3 separate regions of the Homo sapiens genome follow, and regions 1 and 2 are each linked to region 3. Evidence: promoter capture Hi-C in 16 types of primary human blood cells and fetal thymus (Javierre and others, 2016). All regions are on one chromosome and are shown on one strand. Each heading gives the region's core, a stretch centred on a gene start or on the middle of the fragment in contact. The rest is flanking DNA. Distances are from core to core; before and after follow the strand shown. Region 1 has its middle 6.0 kb from the start of INPP5F. Region 2 overlaps TIAL1 (TIA1 cytotoxic granule associated RNA binding protein like 1). Region 3 holds the start of PDZD8 (PDZ domain containing 8).

Region 1 (3,797 bases), core at 234-2,733, 2.3 Mb before region 3:
CGGCCGGGCAGAGACGCTCCTCACTTCCCAGATGTGATGGCGGCTGGGAAGAGGCGCTCCTCACTTCCTAGATGGGATGGCGGCCGGGCGGAGACGCCCCTCACTTTCCAGACTGGGCAGCCAGGCAGAGGGGCTCCTCACATCCCAGACGATGGGCGGCCAGGCAGAGACACTCCTCGCTTCCCAGACGGGGTGGCGGCCGGGCAGAGGCTGCAATCTCAGCACTTTGGGAGGCCAAGGCAGGCGGCTGGGAGGTGGAGGTTGTAGCGAGCCGAGATCATGCCACTGCACTCCAGCCTGGGCACCATTGAGCACTGAGTGAACGAGACTCCGTCTGCAATCCCGGCACCTCGGGAGGCCGAGGCTGGTGGATCACTCGCGGTTAGGGGCTGGAGACCGGCCCGGCCAACACAGCGAAACCCCGTCTCCACCAAAACCAGTCAGGCGTGGCGGCGCGTGCCTGCAATCGCAGGCACTCGGCAGGCTGAGGCAGGAGAATCAGGCAGGGAGGTTGCAGTGAGCCGAGATGGCAGCAGTACAGTCCAGCTTCGGCTCCACATGAGAGGGAGACCGTGGGGAGAGGGAGAGGGAGAGGGAGCGGTACTTTTTATTTTTGAGACACAGTCTCCTTCTCTTGCCCAGGCTCTGTTTTTTGTTTTTTGTTTTTTGTTTTTTTTTTGAGATGGAGTTTCACTCTTGTTACCCAAGCTGGAGTGCACTGGCGCGATCTCGGCTCACTGCAACCTCCACCTCCCAGGTTCAAGCGATTCTCCTGCCTCAGCCTCCCGAGTAACTGGAATTACAGGCATGTGCCACCACGCCCAGCTAATTTTTTGTATTTTTAGTAGAAATGGAGTTTCACCATGTTAGCCAAGCTGGTCTTGAACTCCTGACCTCATGATCCACCCGCCTCGGCCTCCCAAAGTGCCGGGATTGCAGGTCTGACAGGTGGCTTAACTTTAGGGTTAAGGGCCCAAAACACTCACAAGCTGTGATGGTGAATTTTATGTGTCAACATGACTAGGCTAAGAGCTACTCAGAAAGCTGGTAAAACACTATTCCTGGATATGTGTGTGTGAGGGTGTTTCCGGAAGAGATTAGCATTTGAATTGGTAGACTAAGTAAAGAAGACTGCCCTCATCTATATGGTGGTCATCCAATCCTTAAGGACAAGAATAGAACAAAAAGGTGGAAGAACAAATGTGTTCCCCATTGAACCCGGTTATTCATCCCTCCTGCCTGCAGATATCTGAGCAGATATAGTTCTGGGCTCTCAGACCCAGATTGACCTCCCTGGTTCTTAGGCCTTTAGGTTTGGACTGGAACTATACCACAGGCTTTCCTGGTTCTCCAGCTTGCAGAAGGTAGACTGGGACTTCTCAACCTCCATAATCTCATGAGCCAATCCCTCATCATAAATTTTCTTCTGTATATGCATATATATTGTTTCTGTTTCTCTGGAGAAACATGAGGGCAGAATGCAATTGACTGCTTTCCCAAAATTTGTATGTTGAAATCCTAACCTGTAAGGTGATAGTATTAGGAGAGAGGGCCTTTGGAAAGTAATTAGCTCATTAGAGCACTTATAAGAGACCCCAGCAAGGTCCCTTGCCCCTTCCACCACATGAGGGCATCTCGAGGAAACAGATGTTCGTCTAAGAACCAGAGAGCAGGCCCTCACCAGACACTGAATCTACCAGTGCCTTGATCTTGAACTTCCCAGCCTTCAGAACTGTTGGGAAAAAAAAAAAAAAATTCTGTTGTTTATAAGTCACCCAGCCTATAGTATTTTTTTGTTAGCCCAAACAGACTTAAAACACAAGCCAAATTTTTACGTTTGGCCAATCAACAGCCAATTTCTTATGGATTTATCACCCAGCAAACTTAATGCTACCTCCTCACATAACTTCATCAAGGATGGCTGGAAATTGTACTGTTGGAGCACTTTGACATATATAAAGTTCTTCAGGCTGGGCAAAGTGGCTCACACCTGTAATTCCAGCACTTTGGGAGGCCAAGGCAGGCGGATCACTTGATGCCAGAGTTCAAGGACCAGCCTGGCCAACATGGTGAAACCCTGTCTCTACTAAAAATACAAAAATTAGACATGCGTGGTGGTGGGCGCCTGTAATCCCAGCTACTCGGGAGGCTGAGGCAGGAGAATCACTTGAACCTGGGAGGCGGAGGTGGCAGTGAGCCGAGGTGGCGCCACTGTATTCCAGCCTGGGTGACATAGCGAGACTGTCTATAAAATAAAATAAAATAAAATAAGATAAAATAGTTGAGAAGCACCACAGACCAAGAAAAAGGAAAGTCCCTCATGAGGAGACTGTCATGTTGGCCTAAAAGAGGCCCTTTTATTTAATGTAGAAGACCACCCTTTTTTCACTTCTTTACTTTGGGGGTTAATAATTACTGGCTTTTTAATTGTACGGCCTGATAAAATTGTCAAGGACCTACTCAGGAGGCTGAGATGGGAGGATCACTTGAACCCAAGAGTTCAAGGCTACCATGAGCTATGATTGAGCCACTGCACTCTAGCCTGGGCAGGAGAGCGAGGAGTGAGACCCAGTCTCGAAAAAAAAAAAAAAAAAAAAAATGGGGTGGCCGGGCGTGGTGGCTCATGCCTGTAATCCCAGCACTTTGGGAGGCTGAGGCGGGCAGCTCACCTGAGGTCATGAGTTCAAGACCAGCCTGGCCAACATGGTGAAACCCCATCTCCACTAAAAATACCAAAAATTAGCAGTGCGTAGTGGCAGGTGCCTATAATCCCAGCTACTCAGGAGGCTGAGACAGGAGAATCGCTTGAACCCGGGAGGCGGAGGTTGCAGTGAGCCAAGATCGCACCATTGTACTCCAGCCTGGGCAACAAAAGCGAAACTCCGTCTCAAAAGAAAAAAAAGGAAAGAAAAGAAAATTTAGGCCAGGTGCGGTAGCTTACACCTGTAATCCCAGCACTTTGGGAGGCCGAGGTGGGTGGATCACCTGAGGTCAGAAGTTTGAGACCAGCCTGGCCAACATGGTAAAACCCCATCTCTACAAAAAAAATACAAAAATTAGCTGGGCATGGTGGTGGACGCCTGTAATCCCAGCTACTCGGGAGGCTGAGGCAGGAGAACCACTTGAACCCAGGAGACAGAGGTTGCAGTGAGCCAAGATGGCACCATTGCACTCCAGCCTGGGTGACAAAAGCGAAACACCATCTCAAAAAAAAAAAATTTTTTTTTATTAAACCAGCCATAATTATTTGTGTGTGTGTGTGCATGTGCGAGAGAGAGCGAGAATGTCTTTTCTGCAGCTAATTTTTCTCTTCTCTCCTTGCAGAGAAGATAATTAGCCTTGTTCAGTGATAATTTCATAGTTGTCTAAAACCAGCTGTCTCTCACTTCCTTTCTGTTATGCATTTACTCTTCAATTAAAAAACAAAACAAAAAAAAGGTAACTTTAAAAAATTAGTTTGCTCTAAATAAGCTACTTTGGAAAAAACGTCCAGGATACACTGTTAAACAGAAAAAGTCCGAGTTAGGCCGGGCACGGTGGCTCACGCCTGTAATCCCAGCACTTTGGGAGGCTGAGGTGGGTGGATCACTTGAGGCCAGGAGTTTGAGACCAGCCTGGCCAACATGGTGAAACCCCGTTTCTACTAAAAATACAAAAATTAGCTGGGCATGGTGGCATGCACCTGTACTCCCAGCTACTCAGGAGGTTGAGGCGGGAGAATCGCTTGAACATGGGAGGCAGAGGTTGCAGTGAGCTGAGATTGCACCATTGCACTCCAGCCTGGGTGACAGAGTGAG
Region 2 (3,551 bases), core at 753-3,252, 2.2 Mb before region 3:
GTCCTGCTGGAAAAAGTATGTCACTACATTGGCCTGCTGATGGATCAGCTCCTTAATTACGTGGAAAAGGTGGCATAGTGGACGTAAAACAGTTTGTCACTTGTTTAGTCCTCTAGTTAGGTAATATTGGATGTGTGTTTCAATTTTAGAGCAGGTACACTAAGATTATTAGTACTCATTGCAATAAAATTCTTAACTGGAAAATCGCTACTAATTCTTAATTGGATCTTTTAAGTTTTTTACTTAACCTAAGCTTTCTCAGTCTATTTTTCCCTTTGAGTATTCCATCTTAAAGCATGTTGTGTATTTAATGTGGCAGCTATGTTGCAAGTCTTATTTTGGTCTTAATACTCAGTTTCCAGATGTAATATATTACAAGTAGAAAAAGAAATCTACTTTCCAGAATGAACTTTGTTAAATTTTACAGATATTGTTTGGTTTATGAGGTTGTTCATAACAGATGCAAATTTGAGGAATTATGTGTAGAATACCAGAAAGACTTTAGTGTTTGGCAATTTATTTAGATAAATTAAGATAAATCCATAGTACAAGACATAAACCAAGGTGGTCCTCTCTGTGTGATGAAGTAGCATTTTTTTCTTTTCTTTTTTAAACTTTCCTGTATTTAAAATCTTTTACACAAAACACATTCAATTGTAATTAGGAAAAAAAACCCAAATTTTTAAGTGTCCATAGTCAAAAGTATGCCTGGATTTGTCTTAGTTTTTCTCTGAATTTCTTAAGAAATCTTTGTATTAGCTTTTTTATCTACATTAAGATATATTTTGTTGGCTGGGCATGGTGGCTCACTCCTGTAATCCCAGCACTTTGGGAGACTCAGGCAGGTGGATCACTTGAGGTTAGGAGTTTGAGACCAGCCAGGCCAACATGGTGAAACCCCGTCTCTACTAAAAATACAAAAATTAGCCGGGCGTGGTGGTGCACGCCTGTAGTCCCAGCTACCTGGGAGGCTGAGGCAGGAGAATCGCTTGAACCTGGGAGGCGGAGGTTGCAGTGAGCTGAGATCATGCCACTGCACTCCAGCCTGGGTGACAGAGTGAGACTCCATCTCAAAAAAATACATATATATTTTGTTGATTCTGATGCATTTTAGACTAGGAAATTTTATATTTTACCCTGCTCTCCTAAAATGAAACAGTGAAGACATCATTGCAAACAACCTTACTCAGCCAAAAACAAAACAACAAAAACCCTCCACCCTCTGTATGTTTTACTATAACTTTAATTCTGTTCTTTGTTCATGTAATTGCTTTGGTTGGGAATCTAAGATAAACTCACTTTATGTTTAATATCCTATTACAATCAGATGTTTTAATGAATTAGTATTTGTTGTATGTGTGTGTGTGTTATAAATTATTTTTAATTAGAAATTGTAGTTATCTTGAGACCAGTTTAAAATTTTAACAATTAGAATAAGATGAGAAAATGATATCCAGGGTACAGAATAATAATGCCATTGGGGTATACAAGATCACATTGATTTGTTCTTTAAATGTCTTTCAGAGTGGTATTTTAGTGGCCTAAGAACAATTGTTGCTTTCCTAAATAAGGGTTAATCTTACTTTCATAGGATCAGGTTTAATTGGAGAAATTTTGTTGAAAACAGAGGAAGTTAAAATGAAATAAAAGGTGGCCGGGCGCAGTGGCTCACGCTTGTAATTCCAGCACTTTGGGAGGCCAAGGCGGACAGATCACCTGAGGTCAGGAGTTCAAGACCAGCCTGACCAATACGATGAAACCCTGTCTCTACTAAGAATACAAAAATTAGCCAGGCATGGTGGCATGCGCCTGTAATCCCAGCTACTTGGGAGGCTGAGACAGGAAAATCGTTTGAATCTGGGAGGCGGAAGTTGCAGTGAGCTGAGATCATGCCATTGCACTCCAGCCTGGGCAACAAGAGCAAAACTCCATCTAAAAAAAAAAGAAAGAAAGAAAGAAAGAAAGAAAAGGTGATGAATTAGATGATAACACATTAGAGCCAGAGCTAAAGGAAAAATTGCTGATAACGTATTTTTTTCTTGTGCAGATACGTAGGTAACCTTTCCAGAGATGTGACAGAAGTCCTTATACTTCAGTTGTTCAGTCAGATTGGACCCTGTAAAAGCTGTAAAATGATAACAGAGGTAAGATCTTCCCAGTTCCATGTGCTGACAATTAGCATGATGGGTTGATTAGCATGATTTTAAAATTTCATTGTAAGCCTCAAGTTATTCTGGTGGAGAGATTTGTGTTGTGTTGACTTATTACTTTGATTTGGCTGACAAACTAGGCTTAGAATGGAGTTTTATTTAAGAGGGCAAAGTTTCCGTGCTGTTAAGCTCAAACGGTCATTCTTCATGGTGTGGTTATCTTGAAGTGATTCTGCTTTCAGAACATTATTAGAGCTCATTTCAGAATGGTGAAAAATTGGAAAGTATTTCATACAATTCCAATAAGAATGTTAACGATTTAGACAGCATGTGTTCATGTGCGAGAACACGAAGTTATTATGTGTGTAGTGTGCAGCACCGTTCGTCTCGTGTGTCTGTAGCAAATACTTACCTTTTTATACTTTCCTGCTAAGACTGTAGCAGCACCCAATTAGTCATGTTTTAGGCTTTTCTTCCTTGTGTTTTTGTTCATTGATCAGCTTTCTTTTTTTTTTTTGGACTATTTCCTATGTACTAGATACTGCAGTAAGTGCTAGAGATACACTGGTGAATAAAGATAGTTCCTTGGCCCAGAGAATTTTACAGTTTAGTAGGGAGACAAAGGAGTTAGCAGGCACTTAGGAAGTAGGATAATAAATGCTCTAGAAGCAGACAACTTAAAGTGCTGTGGGAGCAAATGTGTATCCAGTGCAGCCTTAGGTCAGTGAGCGGCTTCTTGGAGGACTCACTGCCTAGGCGGAAACCTTGAAAGGATAGTAGTACATACTGGCTAGAAAGGAATTGAGGGAAGAAGGGATTCCAAATAAAGGGAACTTTGATCCAGGTTGGTAGGGAGAGCAGGAGTGCTTGAGACAGAGAGGGAAAAATAGAACCCGTAGCATGGTTGTAGTTAAAATGGAATTAGTCGTAAGAGATGGCAGGAGTTTATGGAAAGGGCTAGAAACTGTGCTAAAGAGTTTGTTTTATCCTGAAACGGAGAACTGTTAAAAACCTTTAAAGTGCATTGGCCTTTTGATTGTCTTTCCCAAGTAATGACAATCATCATTTTGTTCTGGTGTATTATATTTTTCCTTCCTGCCTTTAATTATTTATTTGTGCTTTCATCGATCAAAAATTTCCTTTGCACTAGGCACTATACAAGGTACTGGAGATATAATGGAGAGACAGCCAAATGAGTTTCCCAAGCAAATAGGGATGTAAGCCATGAAGAGAATAAAACAGAGTTCTGTGATGATTGGAGGGTTGGTGCTATATAGGCTAGGTGATGAGAGATGTCACCTCTTTGAGCTGAGATGAATAACAAGATGGTGCTATCTATGGTAAGAGCTGGAGGCAGAGGAAACAGCAAATACAAGTCTTGAGTTGGTAATGAACTTGTGT
Region 3 (3,306 bases), core at 450-2,949:
TCGGTAAGGCATGATAAGCCTGGTTCCGAAGTTCTGTACCTGTCCCAGCTGGGTCAGGTCTATTTTTGTGGTAGAATCACCTACAGTTAAGAGAATCCTTGGCTTGGAGGTTTTCTTCTTTTTTTTTTGAGACAGGGTCTTGCACTGTCGCCCAGGCTGGGGTGCAATGGCGTGATCTTGGCTCACTGCAACCCCCGCCTACCGGGTTCAAGTGATTCTCCTGCCTCAGCCTCCTGAGTAGCTGGGACTACAGGCGCGCACCACCACGACCGGTTAATTTTTGTATTTTTAGTATAGACGGGTTTCACCATGTTGGCCAGGCTGGTCTCGATCTCTTGACCTCGTGATCTGCCCGCCTCGGCCTCCCAAAGTGCTGGGATTACAGGCGTGAGCCACCACGCCCGGCCGGCTTGAAGGTTTTCAAGGGCTAGAGAGGAGCCCTGCCCTGGCTCCTTAGGTACAGCCAGAATCGGCCTTTAAGGTATGGGATATCTGACTCCTGCAGGACTGGAACTCCACGTGCTTGGAGGGATAAGCATTTATGATGTAACCACTAAGTAGTCAGAGGGCAGGAGGAGTAACGCTGTTGCTGGGCAACCTGGCTTAGCTTCGTGGCTTTGGTTAAGGTGCTACTCTATGCAAAATTCCTTGCCGTCTTCCCTAATCCGCCTCCCCAATTCTCCCTTCCTGAACATTAGGGAACCCACTGGCCTGCTTACAACTGAAGCAGTTTCTGTGTTAGGGCAGAGAGTAGTGATCAAGACATTAGGGTTTAGTGTTAGATAAACCAGGCTCCACTCTGCGGCCCCACGCAACCTCCCCACGCTCTCTGCACCAGTGTTGGCATCTGTCAAGTGGGTGGGGGCTAACAGTGAATAACTGCCTCATAGATGGACTACCGGCTTAACCAGAGACTGACAGCGGGTCGCATATTAATCTTCCAATCACTTGGCAAACTCGTTTCACTATGCATCTCTCCTCCTGGCTGTTCTTTCAACTTCCTCCTCCCTGAAATTTCGAAGATCCACCTCGGTGGGAAAGTCATTCCGCGTGGCGCGCCCTTTCCCTGCGTCCCTCCTTCCCAGGGCCCACCCTCCGCGGACGCAGAGCGTCTGCCGGGGGGACGGCAGGTCCGCGATGGCTGCCTCTGAGGCAGTCGGTCCCCTCTCGCCGTGGGCTTGGGAAGCGTCCGAAAGGCCCGCTCGGATCGTCTGCGGTGCTGCCCGCAGGGAAAGCGCCGCTGCCAGCCGGGCTGTCACGGGTGCGAGTGGAAGAAGCACACCGCAGGATGAGCGACGCCGCTGCAGAGGTAACCGCGGGGACTGCGGCCAGAGACGGGGGATGGGCGCAGCCGAGGATAACGGGATGGCCGGCATCCGGAACGCGTCAGGCCCGCTCCGCCGGACCGCCTTATCCTCCAGCCCGCGTCCCCAGCCGTCCTCCCAGATCCCGACCGCAGCTCCAGAAGTGACGGCCACGTGGGTGGCGGCGCGCGCCGCGGGGATTGGAATGTTGGCGTGGGGGGACGAGGTTGGAAGGGCCGCAGAGAAGTAAAGGAGGACCCGCGTCCGCGTGCCCGGGCGCCGACTGCTGGGCGACGCCGCCGGGAGCGAGCACGCCTCTGACGTCACGCGCTGCTCGTCCAATGAGTGGAGGCCTGAGGGAGGCGCCGGTCCCGGCCCCGCTGCCGCCGCCGCCACACCGGCCCTTCGGGAGCGTCTGAGGAGGCGCGGGCCGCTGCGGGCTCGGGCGCCGCAGCGCGCCGGCCCGAGCCCCTGGACGAGGCCCACGGAGCCGCTCGCCCCGACCCAGCCGCCCGATGTCCTCAAAATGGAGGCAGCGGGGGCGGCGGCGTGAAGAAAGCGGCGCTGTGGGCGCGGGAGTAGGGGCCCGGGCGGAGGCGGTGGCGGGATGGGGCTGCTGCTCATGATCCTGGCGTCGGCCGTGCTGGGTTCCTTCCTCACGCTCCTCGCCCAGTTCTTCCTGCTGTACCGCAGACAGCCCGAGCCGCCGGCGGACGAGGCCGCCCGCGCGGGCGAGGGCTTCCGCTACATCAAGCCAGTGCCGGGCCTGCTCCTAAGGGAGTACCTTTATGGCGGCGGCCGGGATGAGGAGCCCTCCGGAGCGGCCCCTGAGGGCGGCGCGACCCCCACCGCGGCCCCCGAGACCCCCGCCCCGCCGACGCGGGAGACTTGCTACTTCCTCAACGCCACCATCCTATTCCTGTTCCGGGAGTTGCGGGACACCGCGCTGACCCGCCGCTGGGTCACCAAGAAGATCAAGGTGGAGTTCGAGGAGCTGCTGCAGACCAAGACGGCCGGGCGCCTGCTGGAGGGGCTGAGCCTGCGGGACGTGTTCCTGGGCGAGACGGTGCCCTTCATCAAGACCATCCGGCTCGTGCGGCCAGTCGTGCCCTCGGCCACCGGGGAGCCCGATGGCCCTGAAGGGGAGGCGCTGCCCGCCGCCTGCCCCGAGGAGCTGGCCTTCGAGGCGGAGGTGGAGTACAACGGGGGCTTCCACCTGGCCATCGACGTGGACCTGGTCTTCGGCAAGTCCGCCTACTTGTTTGTCAAGCTGTCCCGCGTGGTGGGAAGGCTGCGCTTGGTCTTTACGCGCGTGCCCTTCACCCACTGGTTCTTCTCCTTCGTGGAAGACCCGCTGATCGACTTCGAGGTGCGCTCCCAGTTTGAAGGGCGGCCCATGCCCCAGCTCACCTCCATCATCGTCAACCAGCTCAAGAAGATCATCAAGCGCAAGCACACCCTACCGAATTACAAGATCAGGTGAGCTGGAGGTCGGGGAGGGGGCCTGGCTGCCGGGAACCCGGGCCTGGGCGGGACGCTGCGTGGATTGGGAAGGGCAAAGGCTCATTTCTGTCCTGGCGCCTGCTTCTGGGGCCTTCCCACCCTGGACAGGGCCCCAGATCAAGGCGAGTCGTGAACACTTGCTTTGCTTCCGAACGGCATTGATAGGAGCTAGAAACCTTTTCGCGTGTTCATGGGGACTCAGGGTGCTGTCAACGCGGGCAGAATCGTCTCCTTTTATAAGCAGCATATTGGAAATGGAAGGGAAGCCTACCCTAATCCCCAGGAGTCGCTTCTGGGACTGTTGAGAAACTCTCCCTCTATGTGGTTGCTGCATTGAGGGCAGCCGCGTCACTGGCTTTGCAGCATCCCCTTGGCCGCTTTGAGAAATTGTTCCTGGACACAGTACACGCGTGAAGAGTGTGCTTATAGCCCAGGTCTGTGCTAATTTGACATTGCAAGCCACTTTTGCTTTGATGGTTTGACACCTTTCAAGGCAGAG

The links. Contacts are between HindIII fragments. The CHiCAGO score rates a contact against its expected background, and 5 or more counts as called.
Region 1: a contact is called between a fragment that was not itself captured here and the fragment with the promoter of PDZD8 in region 3, in 1 of 17 cell types (neutrophils). The highest score is 5.4, in neutrophils.
Region 2: a fragment that was not itself captured here is called in contact with the fragment with the promoter of PDZD8 in region 3 in 1 of 17 cell types (neutrophils); the score reaches 5.2 in neutrophils.

Annotation. Positions count from the first base shown.
Region 1 is chr10:119,718,164-119,721,960 of GRCh38, reverse strand. No RefSeq gene overlaps it. Among named protein-coding and RNA genes, the nearest start is that of INPP5F, 6.0 kb to the left of the region's middle. RefSeq lists an enhancer at 1-603. The HindIII fragment of the contact is 8,129 bases long and covers 1-3,797 here.
Region 2 is chr10:119,586,745-119,590,295 of GRCh38, reverse strand. TIAL1 (TIA1 cytotoxic granule associated RNA binding protein like 1) reads left to right here. Exons shown (of 12, transcript NM_003252.4): 2 at 2,048-2,144. Among named protein-coding and RNA genes, the nearest start is that of TIAL1, 8.4 kb to the left of the region's middle. The HindIII fragment of the contact is 3,493 bases long and covers 256-3,551 here.
Region 3 is chr10:117,373,833-117,377,138 of GRCh38, reverse strand. It overlaps PDZD8 (PDZ domain containing 8), which reads left to right and starts at 1,699. Exons shown (of 5, transcript NM_173791.5): 1 at 1,699-2,783. The coding sequence starts at 1,912. RefSeq lists an enhancer at 1,259-1,378 and silencers at 1,609-1,928, 2,029-2,208. The HindIII fragment of the contact is 15,008 bases long and covers 1-3,306 here.